Regions from separate parts of the Homo sapiens genome. Here region 1 is linked to region 2. The links are contacts of gene promoters, found by promoter capture Hi-C in blood cells and fetal thymus (Javierre and others, 2016). All regions are on one chromosome and are shown on one strand. Each heading gives the region's core, a stretch centred on a gene start or on the middle of the fragment in contact. The rest is flanking DNA. Distances are from core to core; before and after follow the strand shown. Region 1 has its middle 54 kb from the start of GOLPH3. Region 2 holds the start of ZFR (zinc finger RNA binding protein).

Evidence for each region. The method cuts DNA at HindIII sites, captures the fragments that hold promoters and counts their contacts. A CHiCAGO score of 5 or more calls a contact.
Region 1: a fragment that was not itself captured here is called in contact with the fragment with the promoter of ZFR in region 2 in 9 of 17 cell types (activated CD4 T cells, M2 macrophages, monocytes and 6 more); the score reaches 8.5 in activated CD4 T cells.

The regions. Positions count from the first base shown.
Region 1 is chr5:32,119,349-32,122,179 of GRCh38, reverse strand. No RefSeq gene overlaps it. Among named protein-coding and RNA genes, the nearest start is that of GOLPH3, 54 kb to the left of the region's middle. The HindIII fragment of the contact is 1,072 bases long and covers 954-2,025 here.
Region 2 is chr5:32,443,421-32,446,120 of GRCh38, reverse strand. It overlaps ZFR (zinc finger RNA binding protein), which reads left to right and starts at 1,381. Exons shown (of 20, transcript NM_016107.5): 1 at 1,381-1,499; 2 at 1,793-1,892. The coding sequence starts at 1,463. RefSeq lists silencers at 1,079-1,768, 1,999-2,338 and an enhancer at 1,730-2,287. The HindIII fragment of the contact is 7,512 bases long and covers 1-2,700 here.

The sequences.
Region 1 (2,831 bases), core at 240-2,739, 320 kb after region 2:
GAGGTGGAGCTCAGGTGGTATTGCTCGCTTGCCTGCTGCTCACCTTCTGCTGTGTGGCTTGGTTCTTAACAGACCACCATTACTGGTCCGTGGCCTGGGGGTTGGGGACCCCTCTGTGGAGGATATCATCACTCCTAGTCTATGTTCATTATTGAGGGGTTATCATTTACTGCCTTTTGGTAATTTGTATTTTTCCTGTGAATTACCTGTTCGTGTTCTTTATTCATTTTTCTGAAGGGCATTGATCTTTTTATGTACTGATTCACGAGGACTTAAGCCTATGATGCAGTTGTTTTCCCAGTCTTGGGAGCTGGCAGATGGTAAGTTTTGCTTTTGCTTTCTTTAACATTCAGAAAAGTGTAAGGTGCAGTGCTTGAGCATGCAATTTGTGGAGATCCTTCTTCTAAAGAGATGTCTGGTGGTCAGATTTGATATATATTAACTTTGGGAGGGTATGATCAAATTTAAAAATGGAAAAAGTCGAAATGTCTAGGTTAAGAATATGTATATAAGCATTTCATTAAAAGTTTTTATGATTAAAATATAAATGGAAAATCTCAAATATTTACATTAATTAATTTAAGGCACCCATGTTTACAGCCATTACCCAGGTCAGGAGATAGAACCTTGCCAGCTATACCCTGAAGCTGTTCAAGTCTTTCTCCCAATTACAGTCTTCATAAGAGTAAGTACTGTCCTGACCCAGTGTGAATCTTTAATTGTATTGTTTTGTTTCATTTGATATGTCTTTTAAGTTTTTTTTGAATCTGTAGGTTCTTCCCCCATCTCTCTCTTGTTTTTCCTTTGCAAAATATTTGTTGATGAAATTGGATCATTTGTCCTGCAGAGTTTTCCAAGGTTTGGATTTTGTTGATGGTTTCCACAAGGTGTGATTTAAGGTGTTTGACTTCTACACTGCATTTCCCAAGAATTGGTAATTGGCTCTAGAAGCTTAGATTCAGGTTTGTTTGTGTAGGCAACACTAATCAGTGGTGGTGTATGCTTCCACCAGGAGGCACATAATGTCTCATATTTTCCTTTTGTGATGTTAGCAGCCTTGCTTTTCAATTCTTATTTATTGGGGTTGCAATGTGATATTTTAATAATTCTTTTTTTTTTTTTTTTTTTGAGATGGAATCTCGCTCTGTTGCCCAGGCTGGAGTGCAGTGGCCCGATCTCAGCTCACTGCAAGCTCTGCCTCCCTGCCTCCCAGATTCACGCCATTCTCCTGCCTCAGCCTCCCGAGTAGCTGGGACTACAGGTGCCTGCCACCATGCCCGGCTAATTTTTTGGTATTTTTAGTAGAGATGGGGTTTCACCATGTTAGGATGGTCTCGATCTCCTGACCTTGTGATCTGCCCGCCTCGGCCTCCCAAAATGCTGGGATTACTGGGATTACAGGCGTGAGCCACCGCACCCGGCAATTATTTCTTTTTCTTTTTTTTTTGAGTCAGAGTCTCACTGTGTCGCCCAGATTGGAGTGCAGTGGCGTGATCTCTGGCTCAATACAACCTCCGCCTCCTGGGTTCAAGCAATTCTTATGCCTCAGCCTCCCGAGTAGCTGGGATTACGGGCGCCTGCCACCATGCCCGGTTATTTTTCTATTTTTGTGTTTTTAGTAGAGACAGGGTTTCACCATATTGGCCAGGCTGGTCTCAAACTCCTGACCTTGTGATCCTCCTGCCTCAGCCTCCCAAAGTGCTGGGATTACAGGCTTGAGCCACGGCGCCTGGCCCTCATTATTATTTTTTTTTTTTAGCTAGAATATTTCTATAAAGAGACGTGTTATCTACATTACGTTTTACTATAATTCATAGAGGGAAGGTAGAATAATTCTTACAGTTTATTTACCTATTTTCAAAATACAGCTGATTCCATGGCACCCTCCAAAAATAACTTTAATTTTTAAAGTATTATGAACTTATGGAAACACATTCTGTTTAAATTGACAAATAATAATTGTGTATATTTATGGGTATAATGTAATGTTTTAGTCTTTGTACACATTGGAGATTCAGTCAAGCTTATTAAAATAACCATCACCTTACCAACTTATATTTTTGTGGTAAGAATACTAAAAATAGTCCTTTTTAGCAATTTTGAAACACAATACATTATTAACTGTTGTCACCATGCAATGCAATAGATCACTAAAACTTGATTCCTCTAGTCTGAGACTTTGTATCCTTTGAACAACGTTTGTTTCCCTATCTCTCCCCTTCCCGTCAGTTTCTAGTAACCATTTTTCTACTCTTTTTCTATGAGATTGGCTTTTTTAGATTACACATATAAGCGAGATCTTTTTTTTTTTGTCTTTTTTGTGCCTTATTTCACTTAGTGTAATGGAATAATCATTCTTTTATGTGTTTTGGTCTACAGTTATTAGCCCTATTAATGCTCAAAATGCCCTATCTTTGGCCAGTGGAACTCTCTTCAAGGATCTGGAGTCCTTTTGATAGTTTTAGTAGTCTTTGATAACTTCCTGGTATGGCTCAGATGTTTCAGGTTCATTTTGTATATTTCCTACCCTGTATCTGGAATCATCTATTTTTCCAACAAGCCATGTTTCTTTTAGCATGAAATGGTACTTCGAGACCGTAATTTGGGCTTTCAGAATACTTGTTACTACTGCCTTGGTCATTGCTTCTGGGGGAAAATCTTATGTGTGTTTGTGTGGTGTATGTATGTGTTTATGAAAAGTACCTCACAGAGTTTCAGTGCGGGAAGTTAAAGTGGCAGGGATGGGGCTGGGTGTGGTGGCTTACGCCTGTAATCCCAGCACTTTGGGAGGCCGAGGTGAGTGGATCACCTCAGGTCAGGAGTTCAAGACC
Region 2 (2,700 bases), core at 132-2,631:
TTTTTTTTGAGACGGGGTTTCACCATGTTGGCCACTGACCTCACCTCGTGATCCACCCGCCTCGGCCGCCCAAAGTGTTGGGATTACAGGCGTGAGCCACCGCGCCCGGCCAGCATTTCCTTTTAATGTTCATATCCAACAATGAGGAGAGATGAGGAGCAGGGAGTCTGGGGGATGGGCATGGAGAAGGTAAGGAAGAGGTGAAATGCAGGCAGTACATATGTACTTGATGGAAGACACGAAACATAAGGCCAGAGAAACTAGACGATCAGAAGAGGGACTGGAAGAGGAAAGAGAATGGTTGAAAACGAACTGAGAAACTAAAGGGAAGAAAGCGAGGAAACAGAGGGAAAGAGGAAATGCTTACATGGGGGCAAGTACTGTTCTGTCCTTACCACTAAAGATCTGGCACGTGATCTGGTCTCCCTCTCACTTGACTCCAGCCAGACTGATCTTCTTGCTCTTGAACATTCATTCCTTCATCTGGACCCTTCCACTTGCTGCTCTTCCTGCAGGCATCTCCCAGGCCTGTCCTTCCTTCCTTCAAGTGGTCTCCCTAACCACACTCTACATGAAATAGCACCTCCCTTACCCTTATTTTCCTTACTCTGCTTTATTTATGCTTGAAGCTCCAGTCACCATCAGACAGAATTTCTGTGTTTTGGCTACCGGCTGTTGGCTGACATATACCCGCTCCTAGAACGTAAACTCCACGGGAACAGGGACTTTGTTTTGTTCTCTGCCGTATCTCCAGCACCTACAACACTGCCTGACACCCTGCTGGGTGACCGATATACGCCGGATGGCTCAGGGAGTGGGTGCAGGTCGAGGAAAGGGTATAGCAAGAGGTATGTCCGGGAGGGATGTTTAGGGTGTGCTTTTAGTCCAACAGAAAAGCACTCTCCATCCTTTTTCTATTTCTCTCCTCTCCTTCTCCCTCCCTCCGCACTTCAGAGGTTGGGGAAAAGCTGCGGGAAAGCAGGAAATAAGGAAAAATCCTAAATTGCCCAGCTCGAATTCCAATGAAAAATTAATGAGCGAGGAAGACAGGGAGGCAGGGAATAAGTGCACATGCAAAAGTTAAGGAAGCCAGTGGAAAGCAAAGAAAAAGGCGAACAGACGTCACTCTCTCTGGTCACGCTCCCCGACTCCCCAGAGGACAGGCGAGGCGCTTCTGGCACACGCCCCCGTCGCCCCGCGGCCGCGCGGCGTCACCACCACTTCGGAGAAGGCCAGGCCCCTCTTCCCCCGCGGGCTTCCCCGCGCCCGCACCGCCGAGGCCCCGGCACGCGCCCGGGGGAGCCGCGAAGACGGCGGGGACTACAGCTCCCAGGATGCCGAGCACAGGCGCGCCTGCGCAGTGCGGTCGGAGGCGGCGGTCTGTTCTCCGCTGAGGAGGAGCGGGGCAGAGGAGGGAGGCAGCGGGTGAGAGTTCAGAGTTCAGCAGCAGCAGCCCGAGCCCATGATTCCCATATGCCCTGTAGTTTCTTTCACCTATGGTGAGTCTAATGTGGCCCGCGAGGCCTCTGCCCGGCCCCCTCCCTGGCCCCGGGCAGCGGGGAGCCGCGGGGGTTGGGGCAGGCTCCGGGGAGGAGGCGGCGGCCGCCACCCGGGCGTGCGAGTGAGTGAGGGAGTGCGAGGCGGGAGGGGGAGGCGGCGCGGCCGCGGCCTGGGCCCCGCCAGGGCTGCTCTCACGGCGCCTCTCTCTTTCTCTCCCTGCCCTCCCTCGGCGTCTCGGCTCCTCTGTGTCTCTTGTCCCGCCATGGGACCCGACTCTTCGTGCCCGCCGCAGTGCCCAGCCGGCTGGGGGAAGATGCCAAAATGGCGACCGGCAACTACTTTGGATTCACCCACAGCGGGGCGGCGGCGGCGGCGGCTGCGGCCCAATATAGGTAACGGCATCCTGCCTTCTCTCTGTTCGCCCCTTGCTCTCCCCTCGGTCCGGATCCTGTCGATGCGACGCCCCCGCGCCCGTCCCCAGCCATCCCAGAGCCCCGGCCCGCTGCAGGCCTGGCCCGGCCCAGCCCGGCGGCCTCTCCCGCCCCGCCCCGCCCCGCCCCGCCTTGCCCGGCCCGGCCCGGCCCGCGGCGGGGAGCGGCCCCCAGTAGGGGGGAGGTAGAGACGGCGGAGGTGTAGGGACGTGGAGGCCTCAGGGCCCTTCAGCGGCCCCTTAACTAAAATGGCCTCCTGCGGCCGCCGAGCGGAGCCGCCACCGCCGCCCGGCAGGCCCCCCAGTCCCCGCCTCCGCGCGTCCAGCCCCCACCTCCCATCTTCTTCCCACTTGGGGGATGGAGAGGGTGGCTGAAGGGACCTCACGGGGAGTGCCGTGTCGCAGGTCCACTGGCTTCTCGTGCGACGCCTCTCTGCGTCGTCGCCTGGTGCTTCAACCCCCGGAGCCCAGATAACGTGTCGTTGTCTCGGGTACCTTTTCCTCCGCCGTGGGGCTTCTTCCCCAGACGCTCCATCGCTAGCGAGTCCTGCTGACAAACTGCGGGTGTCACTGTGTTCATCGGGTTCCTTTAGTTTTTCCTGCAAGGAGAGAGATTCACATACCAACCACCTGTAAATTGTGTAGTTCTTAGACTGGAAAAGATGTGCGAAGTTTCTAGTGCTGATAAATGAGTGCCCAGCCTTGTTTGAGCTATGGAGTTTAGGCCCCAGGTGGGCCTGTCATTCTCCTTGCGGGGGTCTTTCCCCTGC